Linked DNA regions of Homo sapiens: all the other regions are linked to region 3. The links are contacts of gene promoters, found by promoter capture Hi-C in human tissues and cell types (Jung and others, 2019). All regions are on one chromosome and are shown on one strand. The core of a region is centred on a gene start or on the middle of the fragment in contact, and the rest is flanking DNA. Distances in the headings are between cores, read along the strand shown.

Region 1 (4,231 bases), core at 72-2,571, 140 kb after region 3:
AAAGAAAGTGCCAAACCAGTGTTTGTGCTGAATTCAAGCATTTTCTAAATTCCCAAGTGGAAAAAAAAAATCTCTTATAGGTCTGCTCAGAGGGAAAATAGGCTTGCAGTCCACTTACTGCCCACGCACCAAAGGCTGCCTGGACCAGAGCCGGTGGGATTGGAGGAGGGGATTCTGCCTTTGCCTCCCTTCCTCCAGAAAGAACACTCCCTAACGTGGGAGCCCATCCAGCCGCACAACGCTGTGTCCACGTCTTCGGGAAGGGGAATGGCTAGTGTCTGTCTTCTCAGAGCAGCTGGACTCAGTTCTCTGTGAGAACAGTACAAAGACATAGATATTCCTCGGCTTGGAGTCTACACTTGGTATTGTCGGGTTTTTATTTTTTATTTACTTATTTTTTGTTTTTTGAGACAGAGTCTAGCTCTGTTCCCCAGGCTGGAGCGCAGTGGTGCAATCTCGGCTCACTGCAACCTCCGCCTCCCGGGTTCAAGCGATTCTCCTGCTTCAGCCTCCCAAGTAGCTGGGATTACAGGTGCACGCCACCACGCCTGGCTAATTTTTTGTATTTTTAGTAGAGACGGGGTTTTACCATGTTGGCCAGGCTGGTCTCGGACTCCTGACTCCTGAGGCCCACCTCAGCCTCCCAAAGCACTGGGATTACAGGCATGAGCCACCGTGCCTGGCCTCGTCAGGGTTTTTAATTATAAATTTAAATTTTATCGATTTGAGTACATGTGAAGTGGCATCTCATTTTCATTTTAACTTGCATTTCCCTGATGTCTAATGAGCGCTGAGTGTCTTTTCCTGACATAACTGGTCCTTTCTGTCTTTCTCCTGTTGTTCTTTCCCTGACTTCTTTTGGATTAGTCAGATATTTTCTATTATTTCTCTTTTCTTTATTGGCTTCTTAGCCAAACCCCTTTTGTTCATTTTTTCCCTAGTGCTTTTTCTCCTGGGCACAGACTACGTATGCCTCACATATCAAATTTAATGTAGGGTCAATATTGTATCACTTCAGTCTTCCCTCTTCATACATAACCCTTTGCATCTTGCACCTCACACCTGGAGTTCCACACTTCACAGTGTGAGGAGCTTATCAGTGGGTTACCTCTCACCATCCATCCTTCACACTGTCCTTACCTTTTACTTCTACACACACTGTAGAAGTATCACAAGCTATTGTTTGTTTTAAACAGTCAGTGGTCTCTTAAAGAAATTATGAGAAGGGCCGGGTGCAGTGGCTTATGCCTGTAACCCAGCACTTTGGGAGGCCAAGGTGGGCAGATCACCTAAGGTCAGGAGTTCAAGGCCAGCCTGGGGAAGACCCCCTGCCGTCTCTACAAAAAATTAAAAAATTAGCTGGCATGGTGGTACGTGCCTGTGGTCCCAGCTACTTGGGAGGCTGTAGTGGGAGGATGGCTTGAAGCCAGAAGACTGAGGCTACAGTGAGCCGTGACTGTGCCCCTGCACGCCAGCCTGGGCGACAGAGCAAGACCCTGTCCCCCCACCAAAACATTTTTTTTCTCTTGATCTATTTCACCAGTTTGAGTATGATATGCCTGCATGTAATTTTCTTTGTATGTGTTCTCTTCAGGTTTTGCTGAATTTCTTGATCTGTAAATCAGTATTTTTCACCACGTGTTTGGATTTGGAGCCATCATTTTGCAAAAATGTTTCCTTCCTAGACTCATACTCTCCTTCTGGAGCTCCGATCACACATGCTTTTGGCCATTTCATACTGTCCCATAGGTCTCTGAGGTTCTCTCCACTTTTCTTCAACTTTTTTCTCTTCTTCAGATTAAATAATTTCTATCCATCTGCCTTCAAGATCCCAAACTCCTGTTTTCTCCAATCTGTTAATCCAATTCAGTGAAATTTTCATTTCTGTTATTGTACTTTTCAGTTCTAGACTTTTCTTTTGATTCTTTTAGATACTTTGTTATTCTGCTGTGAATTTCTGATTCTTTACTCATTAAGACAATATTTTCATTTAATCCTTTGGACATATTATTTTTATTTATTTTGAGATGGAGTCTTGCTCTGTCACCCAGGCTGGAGTGCAGTGGCACTATCTTGGCTCACTGTAACCTCCACCTCCCGGATTCAAGCGATTCTCCTGCTTCAGCTTTCCGAGTAGCTGGGGCTACAGGCGTGCGCCACCACACCCAGCTAATTTTTGTGTTTTTAGTAGAGATGGGGTTTCACCATGTTGGCCAGGCTGATCTCAAACTCCTGGGCTCAAGTGATCTGCCCACCTCGGCCTCCCAAATTTCTGGGATTACAGGTGTGAGCCACCGTGCCCAGCCTCCTTTGGACATATGTAGAGCTGCTTTAGAATCTTTGTAAATACAGAATCTGGTTCATTGTAGGGGGATTGGTTTCTGTTAACTGCTTTTTTTTTTTCTTAACTATGGCTTACGTTTTCCTCTTTCTTTGTATGTTTAGTGATTTTTGTTTTTTTAGTGTATATTCAACACTGATAAATAACAAATGAGGGAGACTCAGGGTGCTCTTCCACTGAAAAATCCTGACTTTCGTTCTAGTTTGTAGTTCCATTACTGGACGTACCATGCTGGGCTGTGTAGGCTTAGCTTTAGGCTCTGTTTACTGAGCAATGTCCCAGGTGTCTCCCAGGCCCCTCTTACTTGGCAGGACTTAACCTCCAAACTCTGACCGTCTTGTGGATCGGGTCAGGGTTTTGCTTTAGACGTTGTTAAGGCGGGCCTGGAGTAGTCCTTATTCTAGGGGAGGGACTGGCAACCTCTGGCTCACAAGCCACATGTGTTGATGGCCTGTTTTTGTACAGCACTTAAAGCCAGGAATGGCTTTTATATTTTTAAAGAGTTGTTTAAAAAAAAAAAAAAAACAAGCAAAAATATGAAACAAAAACTGCATGTGGCCCACACAACCTAAAATACTTATCTGGGCCCTTTATAGGTCGTTTGCTGACCCCTGGGAATGTGATTCTCAATCTAGTGTCTCAGCTCAATGTCCTCAGTGTTAATGGCATTAAAAAGGTCTTGACTGGGCACGGTGGCTCGTACTCGTCATCCCAGCACTTTGGGAGGATTAGGCAGGAGGACTGCTTGAGGCCAGGAGTTCAAGACCAGCCTGGGCAACAGAGTGGGACCCTCTCTCTACAAAAAAAGAAAAAATTAGCCGGGCGTGGTGGCACTCACCTGTGGTCCCAACTACTTGGGAGGCTGAGGTGGGAGGATCACTTGAGCCCAGAAGTTCTAGGCTGCACTGAGATAACGATCAAACCACTGCACCCCAGCCTAGGTGACAGAACAAGACTGTCTGAAAAGAAAACAAAACGGAAAGTCCTTTCCTGTAGCACTACTGGACCTCTAGTCTTTGTGCCATCCTCAACTCTGTAACAGCCGCTTCCTGGTAAACCCATAGAGTCGTCCCACACGTGTAGTCCAGCCTAGGCCAAGGACTTTCAGGGAACCCTACATCGACTTCGGCTCCCCACTCTTGCTAAGCTTCTTCCCCTCCAGTGCCCTGCCTTGCCGGCCTGCTGCTTTAGCTGCCCAGAAGTCTGGTCTCTTGCCTCTCACACCATTACAGTGCACCACACTACACTATGTTCACACATTTAGCAGCTGTGTTCACACCCAAACTATCTCATATATACATTTTGTTAAAAAAAACTTCAGGACTCTCTAAACTTATGATGCCAAGGGTGAAGTTAAGCCCTGGAGACTGAGTCAGTAGCAAGTTTGCAATTCTGCTTCTTCGATTACAGTTTAATGCTCTTCCTCCTTGTTCTTGAGCACAAGTGTCTTCCTCATTGTGGCTGCTCTGTAAATCAGGGCTCCCCGACCGCCAGGGCCACAGACACATACCGGTCAGGCCACACAGCAGGAGGTGAGCTTCAGGCCAGGGAGCAAAGCTTCATCTGTATTTACAGCTGCTCCCCATCGCTGGCATTACCGCCTGAGCTCCGCCTCCTGTCAGGTCAGCAGCAGCGCTGGATTCTCCTAGGAGGGTGAACCCTGTTGTGAACTGCACATTGGAGGGGTCTAGGTTGCGTGCTCCTTATGAGAATCTCATCCCTAATGATGTGTCCCTGGCTTCCATCATCCCTAGATGTGACCGTCCAGTTGCAGGAAAACAAGCTCAGGGCTCCCACTGATTCCACATTATGGGAAGTTGTATTTTATTACATATTACAACATAAAAATAATAAAGTGCACAATAAATGAAATGTGTTTGAATCGTCCTG
Region 2 (4,180 bases), core at 396-2,895, 230 kb after region 3:
CAGATAGGTGTCTATCCTCAGCTCTCCAGGGTCTGTGGGCAGCTCTGCTTTTTCCTCTAGTTGCATTTCTTGAGGCCACTTAGGTACATTTCCTTTCTATTCTCTCCCTTTCCTGCCCAGACATTATACAACGTGAAGGCTGAGATCTTTCCCCCTTCGGGAATGGAGTATTGCAGAACAGGCTCCCTCTGCTCCCTGGAGGTTTTGATCACGAGGCTCTCAGACCTCTTGGAGGTGGATAAAGATGAAGCACTGACTGAATCTGATGAGCATTTTTCGACAAAGCTTATGTATGAAGGTAGGTGGTCTCGAACCCATGGGCTCAAGCAGTCCTCCCGCCTTGGCCTCCCAGAGTGTTGGGATTACAGGTGTGAGGCACTGCACTCAGCCTATCTTGCATTTTGAATGGCTCTTTTACCCAGGCATCATAGCGTTACACCCTGTGCCATTAGTCATGTGGGAAACATGGTTTCCTGAGTTGTGCAGATCTTCCAAATGTGGGCACCTTTCGTTTGACAATATTTTTTTAAAATCTGCATTTGTGATCTCTCAGGGAGGGCTTGGAGCATCAGAACTCTTTCAAGCTCACAGTGGCAAGTGTAAGTTTTCCAAAATTCTGATTTTTGCTTAAAGTCTCAGATGGCATCATTGGCAGCAAATAGTCGTGTTGTTTTCTTTGAAGTGACAGGCTTACATCATTCATTTTTAATCAGACGTCTACCAAATACCCAACACTGAATAACTAGCTTCCCCAGCGCTCTTGCAAGTGAAAAGGGCGTTCTGTGAAAACAGCGGCTATTTCAGCTCGCAGCACCGAGCGCTCCCCGTGTGCTTTCCCTGAGCCAGCTGTCATTCTGCAGCAGAGACCCAGAGAATGTCAAGAACACAAGCACTCAAGAATGGAAATAACTCAAACGTCCTTCAGCTCGAGAGCGGTTAAACTGGCACATCTGATTCCTCCTCAGCAGTGAAACAGAAGGGACTGTTGACACACGCAGTGCTGTGGTTGGATCTCAAGGGCATTATACTAAGAGAAAAACGCCAGTCCTATAAGGAGGTGTACTGTGTGATTCCATTTCTAAATGACATCCTCAAAATGCCAGCCTCAGAAGGAGAGCGGGTCAGTGTTCCACGGAGCAGTGGGAGGCAGCAGGAGGCCGTCCTCTGTGGTAATGGAGAGTTCTGGGCCAGGGCCGCTGTGGTTGTTACACGAATCTACACATGTGACAAATGCCATAGAATTAGACCCAAAGAATGCCTGCGAAAGCTGCTGAAATCCAGTGGGGTCTGCAGCCTGGTTCACTCTGTAGTGAAATCCAGTGGGGTCTGCAGCCTGGTTCTATCTGTATTGAAATCCAGTGGGGTCTGCAGCCTGGTCCACTCTGTAGTGAAATCCAGTGTGGTCTGCAGCCTGGTTCTATCTGTATTGAAATCCAGTGGGGTCTGCAGCCTGGTCCACTCTGTAGTGAAATCCAGTGGGGTCTGCAGCCTGGTTCTAGCTGTATTGAAATCCAGTGGGGTCTGCAGCCTGGTCCACTCTGTAGTGAAATCCAGTGGGGTCTGCAGCCTGGTTCTATCTGTATTGAAATCCAGTGGGGTCTGCAGCCTGGTTCACTCTGTAGTGAAATCCAGTGGGGTCTGCAGCCTGGGTCACTGTATGGTACCAGTGTCAGCTTCCTGTGTTACACGAGATGGCACAGTTGGGTGAAGCTGGTGATGAAGGTATGTGACCCCTCTACTACTTTTACAACTTCTTGTGAGTCTATAAACATTTCACAATTAAAAAAAAGTCTACTCAGGAGCTGAATTTAATAAAATGAGCACTTTTGACTGCTTTGTGAAGCGTGGCATTTTTTTTTTTGTTTTTTTGCTGTGAGTTCATGGTAGTAAAGAACATGAGTGACATGACTGCGCAGTCTGGCCCGAGTTCATGCCATTGTGGTTGCCCCAGCAGCGCGAGGTCAGCAGCGTAGAAAGGCAGCAGTGTGAAAGCTATGAGCTTGCGGGTGCCCTGAGAGCCACACTCTGAGAACTGTCACTCCTTTGCCTTCCTCCTGACACTCCTAGGGCCTCTGCATGTCCTGTAGTAGCTCCTGTCCTCAAAGGTCCCCCATCCCCAACTACAGGATGTCCACCTCCCTGAGCCCTTCTCTGCTGCTCGTGGCCTTCTGGTCACTCACTCCCCCTGGGCGGTTGCTCGGTATCCTCATGATGGGAAGCTGTGACCTCTTTACCAGGTCTACTGCTACTGGATGGCAAGGATCCTGTCTTGCTTACTTTCATATCTCCAGGGCTAGTCCCAGTGAATGATCACTTAAGTGTTTGAATTGCATTGAATTACATGATGGTTGTGTTTTAATAATTAATGTTAATAATAACACCTGCCATATATTAAGACACTACCATGTCCCAGGAGTGGTACTAAGTGCTTTACATACAAGGGGTCTTCAAAAAAATCATGGAAGATACGTTATGAAAAAACTATGCATGGATTTCAACACTTTTTGCACCAAAATAAGCTCCTACTCACTGAGCAGGATCTAGTTTGAGGCACTAAGAAGGATAAGACATCAGTTTTAAAAGAGCCCCTATCAGAGCAACATGAATTCTGCTAAAATTAAATCAAGAACCAACATTGGCCGGGTGCAGTGGCTCACGCCTGTAATCCCAGCACTTTGGGGGGCTGAGGCAGGCGGATCACCTGAGGTCAGGAGTTCAAGATCAGCCTGGCTAATATGGCGAAACCCCATCTCTACTAAGAATACAAAAATTAGCTGGGCGTGGTGGCAGGCGCCTATAAGCCCAGCTACTTGGGAGGCTGAGGCAGGAGAATTGCCTGAACCCAGGAGGCGGAGGTTGCAGTGAGCCAAAATTGCGCCACTGCACTCCAGCCTGGGCAACGAGCAAAACTCCGCCTCAACAACAACAACAACAACAAAACAACCAACATCAAATTTATGGTGAAGCTTGGGTGGAAGAATGGTGAAATCATTGATGCTTTATGAAAAGTTTATGAAATTCTTTGGACAGTGCCCCAAAGAATTAGTAGTTTGCAAATGGATATCTTGTTTTAAGAAGGGACGAGATGATGCTGAAGATTAAGGCCATAGCAAGCAGACCATCCACATCCATTTTCAAGGAAAAAATTCACCTTGTTCATGCCCTAATTGGAGGGAACTGACAACAGCAGAAATGACAGCCAACACCGCAGACATCTGAACTGGTTCAGCTTATGCAATTACGCCTGAAGGGTGAGCAAGCGTTCCACTCAGTGGGTGCCAAAACCCTAGTACCCAGGTCCGTGGCCGACCAGAGCAGAGCTTCCCATGGAAACTTCAAACACACGGGATCAAGATCCTGAAGCATTTACTCAAAGAACCATAACAGGAGATGCAGTGTGGCCTTCCCAGTACCATCCTGAAGACAAAGCAGACACGGCAATGGCTACCAAGAGGTGGGGTGGCCCCACCAAAGCAGAAGCAGACTGGTCAAGAGCAGAGGCCACAGCAACAGGTTTTTGGGATACTCAAGGCATTTTGCTTGTTGACTTTCTGGAGAGTCAAAGGACAGCAGCGTCTGTGTATTATGAGATTGTTTTGAGGAAGATAGCAAGAGCTTTGGTAGAAAAACCCCTGGGGAAGCTTCACCAGAGAGTCCTCCTCCACCACGACAAAGCTCCTGCTCATTCCTCTAACAAGCCCAACTTCGTGAGGGTTTCTATGGGAAATCATGAGGCATCCACCTTGTGGACCTGATTCGGCTCCTTCTGACTGATTTTGGTTTCCTGATCTTAAGAAGTCTTTAAAAGGCACCCATTTTTATTCAGCTAATAATGTAGAGAAAGACTGCGTTGACATGGCTAAATTCTCAGGCCTCCCAGTTCTTCAGGGATGGACTAAATGGCATCGTAAGCAATGGCATCATTGCTTACAAACATGTCTTGACCTTGGTGGGGCTTATGTTGAGAAATAAAGCTTATATTTTCTGTTTTCATCTTTGGATTCCATTTTTGCATGAACTTTTTGTAGTTCCCTCATACGTATTCTCTTTCCATCCTTAAAAAGCAGCTCTGTGAGGCTGGTGGTGGTCTCAGCACTATACAGCGGTCATTGAGCCTGGAGGCCTTGGGGTGCTCTTCTGAGTGGCAGAGTTGGCTTCAGACCCAGTGGTCTTGGATACT
Region 3 (4,204 bases), core at 666-3,165:
GATTACAGACAGGTGTGAGCCACCGTGCCTGGCCATTTTTTGTTTGTTTGTTTGTTTTAAATAAAGCACATCATTGTATATTCACTGCTCTGCACTATTTTTATTTTTTAATTTAACAGATCTTGGAGACTATATCCTATCTGTGTACACAGAATTATCACATCACAACTTTAGAAAATGTTTTAAATTAAAAATGCTAAATGAATGTTCTAGAGTTTATTTAACCAAGTGTCTGGTTGTTCTCAGGCTTCCTGTGATTATAGGTATAGCTGTAAGTCAGCACATCCCTGTATCCACACATCCCGTGGTGCCTGTGAGAATTTATCTGTGGCACAGATTACCCAAAATGACATGAGGGGTGAGAGGTTTTACAAATGGTGAATTCCACGAGCTTTGCAAATCTTAACTCCTTTTTCAAGAATAAGGGAACTGTGAGTAGGACAGGTGCACGGTACTTTCATTTTATTTTAGTCTAAGTATTTTCTGAAATAATTTGAGGAGGCTTAAAGGGAGGTGCAAGCTGGGTGCGGGGGCTCATACTTGTAATCCCAGCACTTTGAGAGGAGGAGGTGGGAGAATACTTGAGCTCAGGAGTTCGAGATCAGCCTGGGCAACACCGTGAGGCCCCATTTCTACAAAAAAAATTTTTTTTAAATTAGCCAGACATGGTGGTGTGTGCCTGTGGTCCCAGCTACTTGGGAGGCTGAGGTGGGAGGATCACTTGAGCCCTGGAGTTCAAGGCTTCAGCGAGCTATGATTGTACCACTGCACTCCAGGGTGGGCGACAGAGCAAGACCCTGTCTCAATAATAATAAAAATAAAAAAAAAAAAAAGGAAAAAAAGGGGCACAGTAGACAGTACCAGTACTTGGTATTTTAAATGGTTTTCAAATGAAGCCCACCCAAGCTCAGCAAGTCCAGCCGGGGCCTGAGGACCTGAGCAGGCGCCAGGTCACACAAGGTACCGGGCGCAGGAGGCGGAGCCCGCAGCGGGCCCTGCCCTGACAGCGGCACCTGCGCGGCCTCCGCAGGTTCTGGGATCGGCCGCTGGCCAGGTGCAAGGGAGGGGGGACGGCAGCCGCTGTCCTGGGGCTGAGAGGGCTCCGCGGTCTGGAGGGGACGGCGTCAGCGCCCGCGGGGGTTCGCAGGGCAGCCCCGGGGCGACCCCCACCCCCGCCACGGTCAAGTGTCGATACAGTGTTGCCAGCCGGGTGCCAACTATGAATAAGTCCAAGGGCGCGGCACGTGGGCCGAAACGCGATCCTTCCGCGGAGCCGCTGCGCGCAGGGCCGTCCCCACCGAGCCCGCCGCGCGGCGACCCCTGACGGCGACCCTAAGCCCCGGCCGACCAGGGCAGGAGCTCGCGCGCGAAACTTCCCCGGCGCCCGCAGGAGACCCCGGCAGGGGAGATGGCGGGGCCCAGGCAGAGCTCGGAGGCCCCTCCCGGCCCCACCCCGCGCCCCGGCCCCCTCTGCCCCCGACCCGGTCCGGGGGAGCCCTCGCGGGACCCCAGCCTGGTCCTTCGCCGCCTCCCCCCGTTCAGCCCCGACCCCCCTGATCCCCGCGCCCCCCGCGGTCCCGGCCCGCCCCCTCCCCCAGCCCGGGCCCCAGCCCCGTCCGTTAGCGGATCCCACGCAGGCTCCGCGCCCGGCCCCGCCGGCGCCCTCGGCCCACACCTCTCTCCGCGCGCGTGTCCCGCCGTGTCGCCCCCGTGTCCCCTCCGCGTCCCCCCCCGCGCCGTCCCCCCGCGTCCCCCCCCGCGTCCTTCCCCCGTGTCCCCCCAGCGTGTCCCTCGGCCGCCCCGCGCGCGCCGGCGGAACTGTGGGATCGCCGCGCACAGGAAGTGGCGGCGGCGGCGCGGCCGAGGGCGGAGGGCGGAGGGCGGCGGGATGGGGGCCGGGGGCGGCGGGCGCCGCACTCGCTGAGGCCCCGACGCAGGGCCGGGCCGGGCCCAGGGCCGAGGAGCGCGGCGGCCAGAGCGGGGCCGCGGAGGCGACGCCGGGGACGCCCGCGCGACGAGCAGGTGGCGGCGGCTGCAGGTGAGCACCGAGGCCCCCACCCGAGGTCGGGCCGCCCCCCTCTTCCCCCACGCCCCGCCGCCGCCCGAGGTCGCCCTCCCGCCGCCGGAGGTCGCCCCTGCCCCAGCCGTCCGACCTCGGGCCGCCCGGGGCCCCGCGCCGCAATGGGCCGGCCGCGCTCCGCGGGGCGCGGGGCCTGGGAAGGCGCGGGGCCGGGAGGAGGTCTGGGCCCGGGTCCTGTGCGCCCCCCGCAACCCCGGCCTCCCCGGCGGCCTGGTCCAGCGCGAGGCCCCGGCCGCTTCCCGCAGCAGCCTCGGTGGCGCTGGGCCCAGCGGGGAGGCCCGGGGGTTCGGGGCGCCCGGGAGGGGCCCGGGCCGGGCCGAGGGAGGGCGAGTGGGTTCCCGCGGGGACGTCCCATCCCTCCGTCCTGGACTCTGCTCCGGGCCCCGCTCGGCTCCCCCGTGGACAGGACGCGCCCGCCGCCTGGTTTCGGGGCGCGGCGGACCCGGGACCCCCCCCAGGGGCCTCCTCCTCGCGCGCCCAGGCCAAGGGAGCAGTTTCACTTTTGCCGCTCCGCGCGGGGAGGGCTGCGGGGCCCGGGGTTGGCTGTGGGTTCGGCCCGGAGACCGGCGGCGCGTTTGCACCGGGCGGGTCAGGGGATGGGGTCAGTCCGGGGGCAAGAGCCGTGGGGGCGAAAACCCACTCCTGGCCACCCCAGGACCCTTGGAACATTGGTCCCAAGTACTTAGGAAAGGAGGGTTATTAGTATTTGAAGGCAGTTAAAAATGGTGCAGTGTTTTTTTTTTTTTTTTTAACTTTGAGAGAAGTTTAGTGACATGGGGAAAATGCTTTTATAAATGGCTTCCCAGACCTTTAAAAAAAAAAAAGCACAATTTTAAAAGCTTTGTCTAGGAGAATACTTGAGCAGTTGGGTTCTTTTTCCTGGGAAACATGATCTTAGTAGAAGAAAGATGTGGGCTGTTGGCCTCCAGACAGAGGGTGATGAGCATGCGGCTCTTATTAAAAATGAAAGCCAACGCCGAGAGCCTGCTGGGGGCTGGGAGGTGGGGCGGGCGGCGGGCCCAGGCTGCTAGAGGGACCCAGGATCCTGCAGCTTTTAAATTGCAGGCGCGGCTGCTCCGACTCGACTCGCTTAGGAATTGCTGAACTTCGTCTTCTCAGTTTGAAAGCTTCAGAGGGGTCTCCCGAGGATGCTGAGCACTCTCTTGATTTGGCCACTTCTTTGCCGCCCCCCCTCCCTCTTTCCAACCAATCCTCCTCCCCCACAGAGTTCGGCGTTAGCCTGTGCCTGTTACAACTCGCTTCTTGTATCCATTTCTGGTTAGTCTTAAGTATCTTCTTGAGGACATTGTCTAAAAAGCAGCTGCATGCCATTGACATTCAGACAGAACAGGGCCCCTTGGCCTTAGAAGGTGTAGGGGCCTTAAATATTCTGAAGGTGACTTCATGGAGTGGCCGCCCTCTGTGGTCACCCTACCTGTGCGTGGCCCTGTCCTGGCGTATCTGCCAGGGGGACGCGCTGCAGCAGCCTGAAGACTGCTGGGTTAAAGGCAGTGTGGCCGGGTGGGAAAGTCCCCAGGAGTGTGGATTCTAGAACAGGCCTTCCTGGAGGGAGGGTGCTGCCCCGCCCCAGGCTGGGGCCCCAGTGCAGACTCCACGCTGGGGAGCTACACCCTGCGCCTGGACGCGCGTCTGTGTGCCAGGACTGGGGAAGCAAACTGAAAGTAATGGCTTTATTTTGGAAATTAGAAAAAGAGCATTCACCAAAGTAATCTGTTCCGTCCCTGCCGTAGACACGTGACTGATACACCTGCCTCCCATCCCCTCCGCACTTTGACCTCGTAAACAAGTGATCTGACACAACAGGGCTTGAGTTACTTGCCCGAGGTTGTGTCACGGAACGGCAGGGCCGCCTTTAGGCTTACATCCCTGGAACTCCCACCTCCACAGACCCGTCCGGGTGCTGAAAGTCCACGGATGCTATCCCTGGTCAAATCAGAGGTAGGTGGGAAATGTTGGAATTCTCCTAAACAGGGAAGGGGAAGATCAGAATGTGTGTTTGAGAAGAGCCTGATTTCCTGGATTCCTTTGGAGGAGGGGTGTCCTTAACTTGCCCAATCACATTTACCCTGTTCATCAATCTTCAGCCCCGCTTAGGCTCTCACA

Evidence for each region. The method cuts DNA at HindIII sites, captures the fragments that hold promoters and counts their contacts. A contact is called where the count stands out against the background at its distance.
Region 1: a fragment that was not itself captured here is called in contact with the fragment with the promoter of AGPAT3 in region 3 in 5 of the 25 tissues and cell types used here (dorsolateral prefrontal cortex, hippocampus, lymphoblastoid cells and 2 more).
Region 2: a fragment that was not itself captured here is called in contact with the fragment with the promoter of AGPAT3 in region 3 in 7 of the 25 tissues and cell types used here (bladder, dorsolateral prefrontal cortex, hippocampus and 4 more).

The regions. Positions count from the first base shown.
Region 1 is chr21:44,006,739-44,010,969 of GRCh38, forward strand. No RefSeq gene overlaps it. Among named protein-coding and RNA genes, the nearest start is that of TRAPPC10, 3.5 kb to the right of the region's middle. The HindIII fragment of the contact is 5,883 bases long and covers 1-4,231 here.
Region 2 is chr21:44,098,237-44,102,416 of GRCh38, forward strand. It overlaps TRAPPC10 (trafficking protein particle complex subunit 10), which reads left to right. Exons shown (of 23, transcript NM_003274.5): 21 at 121-298. Among named protein-coding and RNA genes, the nearest start is that of PWP2, 7.1 kb to the right of the region's middle. The HindIII fragment of the contact is 4,324 bases long and covers 1-3,807 here.
Region 3 is chr21:43,863,308-43,867,511 of GRCh38, forward strand. It overlaps AGPAT3 (1-acylglycerol-3-phosphate O-acyltransferase 3), which reads left to right and starts at 1,916. Exons shown (of 10, transcript NM_020132.5): 1 at 1,916-2,038. RefSeq lists silencers at 975-1,334, 1,885-2,234, 2,355-2,674. The HindIII fragment of the contact is 11,781 bases long and covers 1-4,204 here.